2 separate regions of the Homo sapiens genome follow, and region 2 is linked to region 1. The links are contacts of gene promoters, found by promoter capture Hi-C in blood cells and fetal thymus (Javierre and others, 2016). All regions are on one chromosome and are shown on one strand. Each heading gives the region's core, a stretch centred on a gene start or on the middle of the fragment in contact. The rest is flanking DNA. Distances are from core to core; before and after follow the strand shown.

Evidence for each region. Contacts are between HindIII fragments. The CHiCAGO score rates a contact against its expected background, and 5 or more counts as called.
Region 2: a fragment that was not itself captured here is called in contact with the fragment with the promoter of SUN3 in region 1 in 1 of 17 cell types (total CD8 T cells); the score reaches 5.9 in total CD8 T cells.

What each region holds. Positions count from the first base shown.
Region 1 is chr7:48,027,237-48,033,747 of GRCh38, reverse strand. It overlaps SUN3 (Sad1 and UNC84 domain containing 3), which reads left to right and starts at 4,641. Exons shown (of 10, transcript NM_001030019.2): 1 at 4,641-4,931. The coding sequence starts at 4,810. RefSeq lists an enhancer at 4,251-5,450. The HindIII fragment of the contact is 1,156 bases long and covers 3,492-4,647 here.
Region 2 is chr7:48,125,247-48,132,873 of GRCh38, reverse strand. No RefSeq gene overlaps it. Among named protein-coding and RNA genes, the nearest start is that of UPP1, 40 kb to the right of the region's middle. The HindIII fragment of the contact is 1,123 bases long and covers 1,916-3,038 here.

The DNA of each region.
Region 1 (6,511 bases), core at 3,392-5,891:
TGATCATAATAACTGGAGCTGTCATGACCAAAGAGCATCTCTATTCTCCATTGGATTAACAAAAAAGTACAGCATTCATCCAAGTTGATAACCTTCTTGACTGGCTGAAATCATAAGTTCAGTGATAATGAAGTGTTATCATTCCTTAGAAGAAACTTTTTATTTTATTTTTATTTTATTTTTTTTGAGACAGGATATTGCTCTGTCATCCAGGCTGAAAGGCATTAGTGTGATCATGGCTCAGCGAAGCTTTGAACTCTTAAGCTCAGGAGATCCTCCCACCTTAGCTTCCTGAGTAATTAGGAGTCCAGGCCCACAGCACCACATCTAGCTAATTTTTAAATTTTTTTTAGAGACAATGGTCTTGCTATGTTGCCCAGGCTGGTCTCCAACTCCTGGCCTCAAGGAATGTTCCTGCCTCAGCCTCCCAAAGCACTGGGGCTCTAGGCATGAGCCACCACACCTAGCCAACTTTTGACTTTTGCAGTGTGATTGAAATTACAAATATTTGCAAACCAGATCAGACAAGAATGTAGGTAATGATGCCATGGAAATTAAAACATGATACAAGAATAATTTATTTATAATAAGAATATCTCAATGTTTTTATTTTCTATACTTTATGACATAATCATCTTTCTACCACATAATCGGCCTCAGTATTTAGAAAGATCCAACATTCTCTGACATATATTTTCACTTTATGCCTAATTTTTTCACTTTACTTGTAGATATGCAGATAATCTCCTGCTTATGAGCATTTTGAGAAGAGGAAAAATGTATTTGAGTACAAATTCTGATTTTTCAAAGCCCTCTGGCCCTTCCTTCCTGCCTGGTCTCTGTTGGTTTACCCATGTTGTTGGCTGAAGCTAGTTTATTTAAACTTTCAGGACACATCCTCCATTTGTGCTTTTCCATCTCTCCCACTTTTGCCCTGCCTTGTTACTGTCTGTTCCAATCTCAAGCAGCTGAAAGCCCTTGTATAATTCCCCTCTCCAACCTTCACCTCTGTGAGCTCAGTCTTTCCCTCTAGAACATACAACATAGTCTCACCAGGGTTCCACCAACTGGAGGGGCTTTTACATTTTGTGCTTTTTTCTGATAATCTGAGTAATTTAAAGACAAGGTTTCCTTTTTTGATATATATTTATGTATTTCAATGTTATAGCAGTTTGGGTTTTCAGCCTCATTGGAGAAACAAGATCATCTTCTCTTCACACAGGAGAGAGACTGGATTTCTTTGACTCTGCAGTGCTCTGCATGTTAAAATAATGGCCTTTTTCTTTGGTTGAAATTTTTAAAGACACATTTTGGATTTTTTCCAACTTTATTGAGATATAATTAACAAACAAAACTTCTATGTTTCAGTTGTACATGTTGGTTTTATACACATGTACGTTGTGAAATAATTACTACAATCAAGCTAATTGACATATTCATCATCTCACTTAGTTACCTTTGTGTATGCGTATGTGGGGTAAGAACACTTGAGATCTATCTACTCCCTCAATACATTTCAAGTATACAATACAATGTTGCTAACTGTAGTCAGCATGCTGTACATTCGATCCCTGGAATGTATTCCTCTTGTAACTGAAGCTCTGCACCTTTTGACCAACATCTCCCCATTCCCACTCCCTCTGCCCATCAGCCACTGGCAACTCCCATTCTACTCTTTGCTTCTACACATTTGACTTTTTAGGCTCCACATATAAATTAGATCATACAGTATTCACCTATCTGTGTCTGGTTTATTTCACTTAGCATAATGTTCTCCAGGCTCATTCATGTGGACACAAATGACACAATTTCCTACTTTTTATGGCTGAATAATATTCCATTCTCTTTCTCTCCCCCCACCACCACCACACACCCACCGTGTGTGTGTGTGTGTGTGTGTGTGTGTGTGTGTGTGCATAAATCACATTCATTCATCCATCAATAAACACTTGGGTTGTTTTTATATCTTGGCTTGTAAATAGTGATACAATGAACATGGAAGTGCAAATATCTCTTCAACACACTGATTTTATTTCCTTTGGATATATATACCCAGAAGTGGGATTGCTGAATCATAAGGTAGTTCTATTTTTAATTTTTTAAGGCACTTCCATACTGTTTTTCATAATGAGTATACCAATTTACATCCCACCAACAGTATACAAGGGTTACATTTTCTCTGCATTCTTGCCTACACTTATCTTTATATATTTTTGTTTGTTTGTTTTAAGATTAACAATTTCTTTAAAATATGGGGTCTGGCTATGTTGCCCAGGCTGGTCTCAAACTCCTGGGCTCAAGCAGTCCTCCTGCCTCAGCATCCCGAGTAGCTGGGATTACAGGCGTGTACCACTTTGTGCAACACTAGCTGTTTATCTTTTTTATAATAGCCATCCTAACAGCTGTGAGGTGATATCTCATTGTTGTTTTGATTTACATTTCCCTGATGATTAATGATGTTGAGTAGCTTTTCACATGCCTGTTGGCAATGTGTATGTCTTCTCTGGAAAAAAATGTCTATTTAGGACCTTTGCCAACTTTTAAATTCAGTTATTTGTTTTCTTGTTATTAAGTTCCTTTGCTGTGCAAAAGCTTTTTGGTTTTTGGTTTGATGTGGTTCCACTTATTTATTTTTGCATGTGCTTTTGATGTCATATTTAAAAAGTCATTGTCAAGACCAATGTCAGGGAGATTTTTTCCTTGTTTTCTTCTAGGAATTTTATGGTTAGAGGTCTTATGTTTAAGTCTTTTATCTATTTCAAGGTATTATTTGGGTATGGTGTAAGATAACTGTCCAATTTAATTCTTTTGCATGTGAATATCTACTTTTCCCAGCACCATTCATTGAAGAGACTACAGTGTCCTTTCCTTATTGTGTACACCTGACAAACTTATCAATGATTAGTTGGCTGTATATGTGCGGATTTATTCTTGAAAAATACACATAGACTTTGACCCAGAAGTTCCTCCTCTGGGTATATATCCTTAAAGATATATTCACACATATGGATAATAACTTAAATACAAGATTACTATTGCACATTATTTTAAATACCAAACTGCCCATCAATATGAGACAGGCTAAATAGCCTATGGCCCATTCACCCAATGAAACACTATTCAGTCATAAATAAATGAGGAAGATTATCTCAAACAATCAAAACAACTTCCAAGATACATGTTTAAGGGAAAGAAGCAAGATGCAGAGCACAGTTTATAGTAAGCTACCATTAGGAATGTGGAGAGATAAATATACCTATAAAATATTACATATATAATACAATGTCACATACTGTGCATGTGTATCACATCTTTGAAAGGAAATACTATAAATGGTAGCATAGATGCTAAAAGAGAGGGGAACCAATAGCTAGAAGGCAGATGCCGGGTGGAAAGGCCATATTTGCTGTGTACCATTTTGTAACTTTCGAATTTTGGACTAGTAGGTAAAAAAGTAGAAACTTGGGGGTTTCTTGGTATAAATCTAAGCTTTCAGAAAATAAGTAGTAAATTGAAAAATAACACTTACAAATTCACCCAGAAATCAGCATAAGTAAAAAGAGAAAAAAGCAAAAACAAATATGAAGGAGCAGTTGAACGGAAAGCAAAAGGGAGACACAAGTGTCAATAGGTGGACCATTCTAAGAAAATTGAGGCAGTGGCAGAGAAGCAATATTTGAAGCCCTGATGGCTGAAAAATAGTCCAGAACTGAAAAAACACACAAGTACCCAAATTGAAAAGACTCTCTGAGTTATAAGTGAGGAAAAACAAAAACTAGTATCAAACCTGGATACACTAAAATACAACTGGAAAATATGGATAAACAGAAAATCTTAAAAACTACGCGAGAAATTGCCAAAAAAAACAGAGAAATGAAGATAAGACAGAATTCTCATCAACAACAATCAATCCACAAGGCCATGGAGTAGTATCTCCAAAGTGCTGAGAGTGAAATGACTGTCATCGTAGAATTTATGCCCCAAATAAACCAGCTCATCCTTCCACCTAACTATTCTGTTTCTAGGTGTATGTTTAGAAAAACCTTGTGATGTGCATATAACAACGTGCAATGAGCATTATTCCTTGCCAAAAAAACTGAAAACAACCTAAGCATACATTTACAGAAGGATGGGTAAATGAATTGTGATGTATGTATAATGAAATACCATAGAGCAATTAAAATGAGTGGAGTTAATGTCTCAAGATAAATAATATTGTAAGAAAACCTAGAGTGGCATAACATTTAGTTTATGTTTTAAGCATGAAAATGGTATTATTTATAGATACAGATTTACATAGTAAAGTATCAAAAATAATGAGAATAGAGTATATCAATTTTCAGGTTGTAGTTATCTGTGGAAAATAAGAGTGCTGAGATTCAGGGATACTTGGGGGTCTACTATTATATTTCTGATATTTTCTTTATTAGAAAAGCACTGAAGCAAACACAGCAAAACATCCAGATTTGCTATCGAAAAGCGGTAGGTACATGGGGGGGCCTTTGTATTATTCAGTGGGTGTGACATATGGTACAATTAGGCCCTTGAAGCAGAGAGGTGGTTGCCTGTCCATGCCCTGGCTGGGCGTGGTGGCCATCTGCATTATGAGGTGTCACGGAGGATGATGCAACAGAAGAATCAGAAGCTTTTCAAAATTCCGTCTTCAAGAAGAAACACCCGTGGAGGAAGAAGACATTATACAAAACAAATTTAGAAACTGTATGTATAGCTTCATGTTTTTCATAAAATAGGAATGAGGACAAATGTTGCTCTTCATCCTACCAGCTGTTTGTTCTTTGGTAGGGGATCATGAGTGGAAAAACAAAGGCAAGAAGGGCTGCCATGTTTTTTAGACGTTGCTCTGAAGACGCCAGCGGTAGCGCCAGTGGCAATGCTTTGTTATCAGAGGACGAAAATCCTGATGCGAATGGGTAGGTAAACATGGCAGAACGGTGTGCCTGAAATTGTAGGTTTTATGTGTTACATCTGTCACTTGTGTCTGTTCATCTGTTACCTGTTACCCGACAGTATTTTCTCCCTTTATAGAGAAAATCATTTTCAATAGTTTCCTTTGAAGGTTTCTCTTCATCACAGTCTTACACTTGATCACAATACTTCTATGTCAACGGTATCTGGATTAATAACAGCAGACTTGGGAGAAGGATTAAGAAAGGAGAGCCACCCTCTTTAAAAGAATGAGCCACAGCAGCAGGAACTTAAAAGCTTCCAGATAATTCACTTTTTTTTTTTTTTTTTTTTTTTTTTTTTGTCATTGGGCTAGCTTGTATAGTCTTGGTGGTATGCAGAGCTTAGCACCGGGCTCAGGACTCTGGGCACAGAGTGGCATTTATTACATTCTTGGGTGATAATTGACTAAAGACTCTGGTAGGGGATGCACATTTTGAGTGAATCACCCTGTTTCCTCTAGTGAGAACATATGTGGGGATTATTATAGCAGGGAATCCAAATACCCTAAACCTATTTACAAACGCCCTGCCCATGTGCTGCCTGCTGGGAAAACAAAAACTACAAGTAATGAAATAACCTTCCTATTGGTAACAATGAAGCACTTGCACAGAACAAAACTGTCAATAAAAATAAAAGGAATGCTACAAAGTTATTAGTACAAGTAGAGCAGCATTTCAAAATCACAGTAATAACAAAATATGCTTGCCCCAAATGGCAGAATCCCACTGGCTGGGTGAAGGCACCGAAGGAATTTTGCAATGCAGAGCCTGGCAGCCAGTTTTCTAGTGAAAAACAAAAAACGAAAAACACTGGAGTTAATCTTTGGTAAATATGGTAATGTGATAATTTTCACTTAATGCAGCCCACCAAAAGAGCTCTTGTAGACCATAACTGACCTATGAACAACTTTTTTAATACAGTGGACCCCCTACCACTCTCCACATCTCCAATAATAGTTAAAAGGAAGAGGTTCCAGAATACACTTCCCTGGAGGGGAAGAGAGTTAAGAAAATTCTCTTCTTAGTTGGTTTCCACACTGTCACACTCTTGGATGGCTAATAGGTATGACTGCTTTATGTAGGGTAGATAAGCTACTTAAAGATTCTGTACTGGGAGAATTAGGCGGCCCACTCTAGTGAATACAGTTAATGAATGGTCCATCTTAATGTGATTTTTCTTATGTTTTAAGTAGAAATTTTTAGTTTGCCAACTTGTAATACTTTATCCGGAAGTTTATAGCCTTCACGTTAGATTAATGTGATCATTTTAGCTTCCCTCCCCATCCACCCTTTAGGGCTTTTTAAAAGGTTAGATGTGAAAAGGTTGTCATTACAACCACTTTGTAACACTGAGCAAAATCTACTGCAACGGATTATGCATGTATCCTATGACCCATCAATGTCTCTCTTGAAAATACACTTAAATGAAATACATACTTGTCTTCATCAGAAACCATGTACAAGAATGTTCATAGCTGCATTGCTTGTAGTAATATTTATAACTGCATTGTTTATCATAGCCCCAAACACCCATCAATGTTAGG
Region 2 (7,627 bases), core at 1,228-3,727, 100 kb before region 1:
ATGAAATTATTTCCAGAAAACTGTGAATCTATGGTATTAAAAGAATATGTTGAATAATTGCAACAGCTTTATAAGGCAGCCAACTAGAAACTATAATTTAGTAAAAGACTCTTTCCACAGTGACCTCCTGTAGGATGAAAAATTCTAGGACCATGGACTTCAACCAGGAGATTTTGTCTGTTGGAAATAAGATCTTTTAAAAGACTTCCTCCAGCCAAGATGAAAGGGAATTATCAGGTGCTCCCAACCAATCCTCATGCCACTAAGCTAAAAGGAATTGACTCATGTCACCCATTTAAAGAAAGCCACTTTGACCGGGCACGGTGGCTCACGCCTGTAATCCCAGTATTTTGGGAGGCTGAGGTGGGTGGATCACCTGAGGTCAGGAATTCGAGACCAGCCTGATTATCATGGAGAAACCCCGTCTCTACTAAAAAATACAAAAAAATTAGCTGGGCGTGGTAGCACATGCCTGTAATCCCAGCTATTCAGGAGACTGAGGCAGGAGAATTGCTTGAATCCGGGAGGCAGAGGTTGCGGTGAGGCAAGATCGCACCATTGCACCCCAGCCTGGGCAACAAGAGCGAAACTCCATCTCAAAAAAAAAAAAAAGAAGAAGAAGAAGAAAAAAAGAAAGCCACTTCACCAATTTGAACTTTGTCTCAAACTGGTGATCTAAAAAAATTCTCCAGAACCAACAAGAATGAGAAAAAGACAACATCTGAGATAAACAGCTTTCCTAAGACACTGGACTAATCCTGTATCTATATAAATGCTAAACATTAATAATTGTTAGTAGATGGAGAATATCTTTCTTTGAAGTTCCCACTAAATTTCTTTTTTTGTTTTTATGTCCCTAGTTCTTGGGCTTTCTTGCCACTATCAACAGTTATTGCCCATAGCAAACCTCTTCTTTCAGTGGGCTCAGGACCATGCTAGCAGATTACAGAAAAACACTTGTTGGGTATGTGGCCTCATGCCCTTCTCCAGTGGTTCTGCCTGCCATGGTGGATATCTCCTTTCCAAAGACAAGATTAGATAGAATGTCAGAAATATATCCATGTTTCTCAAGAACAGTGATCACTGCTTCATACTAGCATGACAAAGGATGACGTGCGTCACTGGCCTGTTAATAATACTATACAAAGCAAAGCACATGGGAAGAGCATTTCAGTAAAAGAGACCAATTTATTAGCTTTAATGCTGGCACTGACCCAACTGAGAGATAAAGCAACTGAATTTGGGGATGATATAATACAAATTCGGAACTGTTTTAGCTGGCTTACCTCCTCTTTTGGTCAGATTTAAGTTGGGAATGAAAGAATCACACCAAAGATACATGGCTCAATAGCACTAGAGATATGTGATGGATAACCAAGGAAATGTCTAACCACATCAGTATATCACACAGTACTGATTGACATGCCCCTGAATGGGCACAGAGAGTGGGTATTTACTGGCTAGCTCTAAATGGCTGTATCTTGGCTGTGTGGCACCAATCTGTGGTCACATTTACCCCTAGGATGGTTAGGACGGTGTTCTTTGGGTTATGCCTGGGCACAAGGTTGAGCAGTTCATATTCCTTCAAGGCCTGCAAATCTTCCTCATTTATAATATCAATGGGTTTGTTCTGTATCCCATCAGTATGATCATTTAGCTTCCATCTTTCTGCCCAACTGTGTATTGAGTATGCCATTTGGCATGTAGAGGCCCTAACCAACTATATAAAATGAGGCCCTAAATGATAGCTGCATGGTTATCTCGTTATTAAACAATGGCATTGCTCTTATGAGAAGGGCTGCAGACATACTCACTGCAGCCCAAGGAGAAACCTGTGCTGTCATAAAAACTGAGTGTTATGTCTGTACCCCAGATGAGTCAGATCATCACTAACTTAATCACCAATATGAAAGCTTAAAAAACTACCCTTTCAGATCCAATATCCTCTCTAAAAGATTGGCTGAGCAGCTGGTTTGGATCTTGCAGAATTTGGTGGTTACTTGTTCTCAAAACTATAATCCTTTGTTTTGTTTTGTCTTTACTGCTGCTGAGGCATTCTTTCACAATGTAGTCAATGCACAACTGAAAAAAACTAAAATAATTGTCATTCAAAGAATTGCATTAATTGAAGTTGTAGCCATGCAGCCTGACTCAGGTCTCAAAGCCACTTCCTTTATGTTGCTTTAAATTCAGCCTATACCCCATCAGCTTTAGAGCCTGACAAACTCCTTCTTCTGTGAGACATGACACTCTAAGAATTAGCCTTCCTAGTGATGTGGGATTAAACTCCTGAACCAAAAGGAGCCCAAACCATTTGAGTTTATCTACAAGACTTTCTTTGAAAGATCTTAATGAAAAGGGGAAAATGTGAAATTAAATAATTGTACTTAAAGCTGTCGTAACGTTAAATTATTCTGACCCTTAAGGGGGTATGTCTATACAGTCTGCTGCATTTTCTTCCTGTAAATAATTAGGAAGACCAGACAGCACCAGAGATAAGACTCCCTCAGATCACTATCCCTCCTCACCGAGTAATAATCTTCCTTGGAATGTAGCAATTTGTAACCAATCAAATCTTTGTAACTATGCACTGGTCTTGTATGGAAAGTGTAAAATTTCTCTGTCTCTGCCTACATAAGTAGGCATAATTCCCACATGTTGTGGGAGGGACCGGGTGGGAGATGATGGGGGCAGGTCTTTCCCATTCTGTTCTCGTGATAGTGAATGGGTCTCACGAGATCTGATGGTTTTAAAAATGGGAATTACCCTGCACAATCTCTCTCTTTGCCTGCTGCCATTTACATATGATGTGACTTGCTCCTCCTTGCCTTCAGCCGTGATTTTGTGAGGCTTCCCCAGCTACATGTAACTGTAAGTCCAATTAAACCTCTTTCTTTTGTAAATTGTGCGGTCTCAGGTATGTCTCTATCAGCAGTGTGAAAATGGACTAATCCATATGTGAAACCGTAACTTCTCCACTTTGGAATGCTGATTCCATTGGTTTGGAATTGGTGTTCCCAAGTGGCCATCCTCAAGCTTTCTGCTTGGATAATCTCAATGTTTAATCATATTTTCTGAACTTTATTATTTAAAGTTTATGCTCCCTATTTCTCATATCCCTCTTCTTCTCCCTAGGACCTTATCGTCCTGCCAGGATCTCAGATCCAACCTATTGTCGATAACAGTGTGAGACCCCTAGGGTTCAGAGACTCACTCCCAGATTTTTGACAGAATCTCTGGAAGATATTTTATTTCTTCAGATTCTTCAAAGAAAATCAAAAATTCAAGACAAACATTTTTTATCTTGATAATATTATTGACCTCTGGAAGGTGTTCATTGATATATCACTGGGCTGATACAGTTTACCTCTTTGGATTGTTTACCAAAGTCTCCGCAACAAAGGGAAGAAGAAAGAAGTGGATGTCAAGAAAAGAACATTCCTTCCTGTTATTAAAGTTCTACCCTGAACCAAAATATGCTGGATACCAGAATCTTTTCTGTTTTGAATCTGGAAAAATACATCCAACCTGCCTCCCCTCTACTCAATATCTCCCTCAGGTTGAAGAAGGATCACATTCTGTCTTGGTCATCTGCAAGCTTCATACCCGGAGATATGATCTAGCTCTGAATCTCTCACCTTCACAATTGTACACACTTAAAAAGTAACAGTTTACATTTTGCACACTAACAGTAGAGCTCTGGGAATCTATGAGTGCATTTGCTTTTACCAGTTTTTGCATTAAGCTAGCCTCAGACATTCAGATTTTTTTTCACACAAATGTCTTAATGACCTTCCTCCAAGTTCACACCAACCTATTTGGATACAGCTGTTAATTAGTCATCAGTGGTAGGTCCCAATTTCTATTTCAATTGCGCAGATGAAAAGTTCTACTAACAAGTTCTGCAGTGGAGAAACCTGTTTAAATGTAAGAGTTTTCCTACCAGCAGTGGTATTCAAAGTCATTTAGAAACCAATGACCATTAGACAATCTAGAAAGGGGCTGGAGAGAATATTCATTTTTCCTTGCTTCTTCATGGTCAAGTTCAAGCTTGACTATGAAGATGTCAGCTTAGGGATGTGGGAGAAAGAATCCAGGATAACAATATATTCACAACATAGGCAATTTAAAACAATACTTCCAGAGTCCCACAAGCAATCATTACACAAAAGATTTTAAGAGACTGTTTGGACACTTTATTTTTATTAAATTAAAGTCACAGATTTTTAACAAAGGTTCTCCATTTAGATCATTATAAAATTCAAAACCTGAGGAAGCCTCATCTTCTCTTTATCAGCTCACTCCAGGTGTATGTTTATTGCAGAAGGAGGTTCTATGAGCCATCAGAGAGGTCCTTATCAGTCACCTGATAACATTATGGTTGACTGTCATAAACAGCTAGGGTATTGACAAATTTTTGTTGACCTCACAGAATTTCTGAAACACTTATATTAATACTACATATCTATACAAATATAACTTAAAGAAAATTCAACATCACATCTTATTTGGCAATGTTTTCCATGTAACTTAACTACCAAGTAAGCCTAAGTAGTTTAACATATATCTTTTTGTAAGAGCAAAAAAAATTTTAAGTTTTTCCAGGAGCCCCCAAGAAAAGATCAAAGTTAGTTCAAGGTAAGAAAAAAAAAAAAAAAAAGGCCACATTTAGAATTTGATTTTGAGATGTAAAAAAAATCAAAAGGTTTTAATACTTAATTAGGATCACAGATCCTAGGATATAATCTCAGATTATTATTATATAATACTTAGCTATCTGTTTAAATAAAGTGATAATAAAATACTGTAAAGGCAAATATACAAGGTTACATAGGTGAGAACAAAAGCTAGCTTTTTTTAATATTGAGAAGAGTCAGCTTCCTTAGGTAATTAAAGACCTGATAAAGACAAGAAGCACAGAAAATTATTTTTAATAAAACACAAAAATATTTGTTTTCTAGGGAGATTACTCAGAGACAAAAAAAAACCTTTCACAATTTATTAAGAGCAGACTAACAATCTGAAAAAACATTGCCATTTTAATTTTATATTAGTACCCTTTTGACCCTAAGACTTATCATTTTTTAACTCATAGATAAATCCACTCAATCTTAGCAGCTCAACCACACAAACTCCTTTTTTGAAAATTTTCTACAACATTTTTTATTTTTTATATCCTCTCAGTTTTTGTCCGGTTTTTATCTGCTTTCCTATTCTAGAACAACCAGTCATTCTCCTTCAGAATAAAATTATTTTTTCCTGCTCCAAGAAAGGAGAAAACAACCAAAAGGAAGCTAATTCCACCACCTGCAACATCCTGGAAAACCAGAGGTCCTGAGTCTGTCCATATGACAACTTCACTGCTAGCACAACCAGCATTCGAGAAACCCAGCACACTAAACAAAACTACAACCAAGGACCCTTACAGAGTCCACTTCACTCCCCTGCTACCTCCACTGGAGCAGGTGCTGGTATCTACAGCTGAGAGAGCTGAAGATGAATCACACCACAGGACTCTTTGCAAATACTCCCCAGTACCAGCCTGGAGCCTGGTAGCTTCTCTAGGTGGCTACCTCCAGAAGAGCAATAATAATCACTGCAGTCCAGCTCTCAGGAAGCCCCATCCCTAGGGAAGGGGAGAAGCACTACATCAAGGGAGCACCCTGTGGGACAAAACATCTGAACAGCAGCGCTTGAGCCCCAGATTTTGCCTCTGACATACTCTACCCAAATGAGAAGGAACCAGAAAAACAACTCTGGTAATATTACAAAACAAGGTTCTTTAACACCCCCAAAAGATCATACTAGCTCACCAATAATGGATCCAAACCAAGAAGAAATCTCTGAATTGCCAGAAAAAGAGTTCAGGAGGTTGATTATTAAGCTACTTAAGGAGGCACTAGAGAAAAGTGAAAATCAACTTAAAGAAATTTAAAAATAATAAAGTATATGGATGAAAAAAGTCTTCAGAGAAATAGATAGCATAAATTTAAAAAAAATCACAACTTCCGATAATGAAAGACATACTTAGAGCAATGCAAAATATACTAGAAAGTTTTAACAATAGCATTGAACAAGTAGAAGAAAGAACATCAGAGATTTAAGACAAGGCTTTCTAATTAACCCAATCTGACAAAGACAATGAAAAAGGAATTTTAAAAAATGAAAAAAGCCTTCAAGAAGTTTTTGGGATTATGTTAAATGATCAAACCTAAGAATAATTGGTGTTCCCAAGGAAGAAGGAAAATTTAAGTATGGGAGGCTGAGGTAGGCAGATCACATGAGGTCAAGAGGTTGAAACCAGCCTGGCCAACGTGGCAAAACACTGTCTCTACTAAAAATATAAAAATTAGCCAGGCATGGTGGCAGGCCCCTGTAATCCCAGCCACTCAGGAGGCTGAGCCATGAGAATTATTTGAACCTGGGAGGTGGAGGTGGTAGTGAGCTGAGATCATGCCTCTGCACTCCAGCCTGGGCCACTGAGTGAGATGTGAAAGAAAGAAAGAGAGAGAGAGAGACAGGGAGAGAGAGAGAGAGACAGAGAGAGAAAGAAAAGAGAGAGAAAGAGAAAGAAAGAAAGAGAGAGCGAAAGAGAGAAGAAGGAAGTGAGGAAGGAAAGAAAGAGAGAGAGAAAGGAAGGAAGGAAGGGAGAAACAGAGAAAGAGAAGAAAGAAAGGAAAGAAAGAAAGAGAAGGAAGAGAGAGAGAGAGAGAAAGAAAAGAAAAGAAAAGAAAAGAAAAGAAAAGAGCTAAGTAAGTCTGGTAAACTTATTTGAGGGAATAATCGAGGAAAACTTCCCTGGCCTTGCTAGAGATCTAGATATCCAAATACAAGAAGCTCAAAGAACACCTGGGAAATTCATCACAAAAAGATCATTCACCTAGGCACATAGTTATCAGGTTAACTAATGTCAAGATGCAAGAAAAAATCTTAAGAACTGTGACACAAAAGCATCAGGTAACCTACAAAGTAAAACCTATCAGATTAGCAGCAGATTTCTCAGCAGAAACCTTACAAACTAGAAGGGATTAGGGTCATATTTTTAGCATCCCTAAACAAAACAATTATCAGCCAAGAATTTTGTATTCAGCAAAACTAAGCTTCATAAATGAAGGAAAGATAGTCTTTTTCAGACAAACAAATGCTGAGAGAATTTGCCACTATCATGCCAGCACTACAAGAACTGCTAAAAGGAGTTCTAATCTTGAAGCAAAACCTCAAAATATACCAAAATAGAACCTCCTCAGAACATAAATCTCACAGGGCCTATAAAACAATAATACAATGAGAAAAAAAAAAGATATTTAGGCCACAACTAGCATGATGAATAGAATAGTACCTCACATCTCAATAGTAACATTGAATGTAAATGGCCTAAATGTTCCACTTAAAAGATACAGAATGGCAGAATGGATAAGAATTCACCAACCAAGTATCTGCTATCTTCAAGAGACTCACCAAACACATAAGAACTGACATAAACTTAAGGTAAAGGGGTATGAAAATATATTCCATGCAAATGGACACCAAAAGGGAGTAGGAGTAGCTATTATAACAGACAAAAGAGACTTCAAAGCCACAACAGTTAAAAAAGACAAAGAAGGATATTATATAATGATAAAAGGAC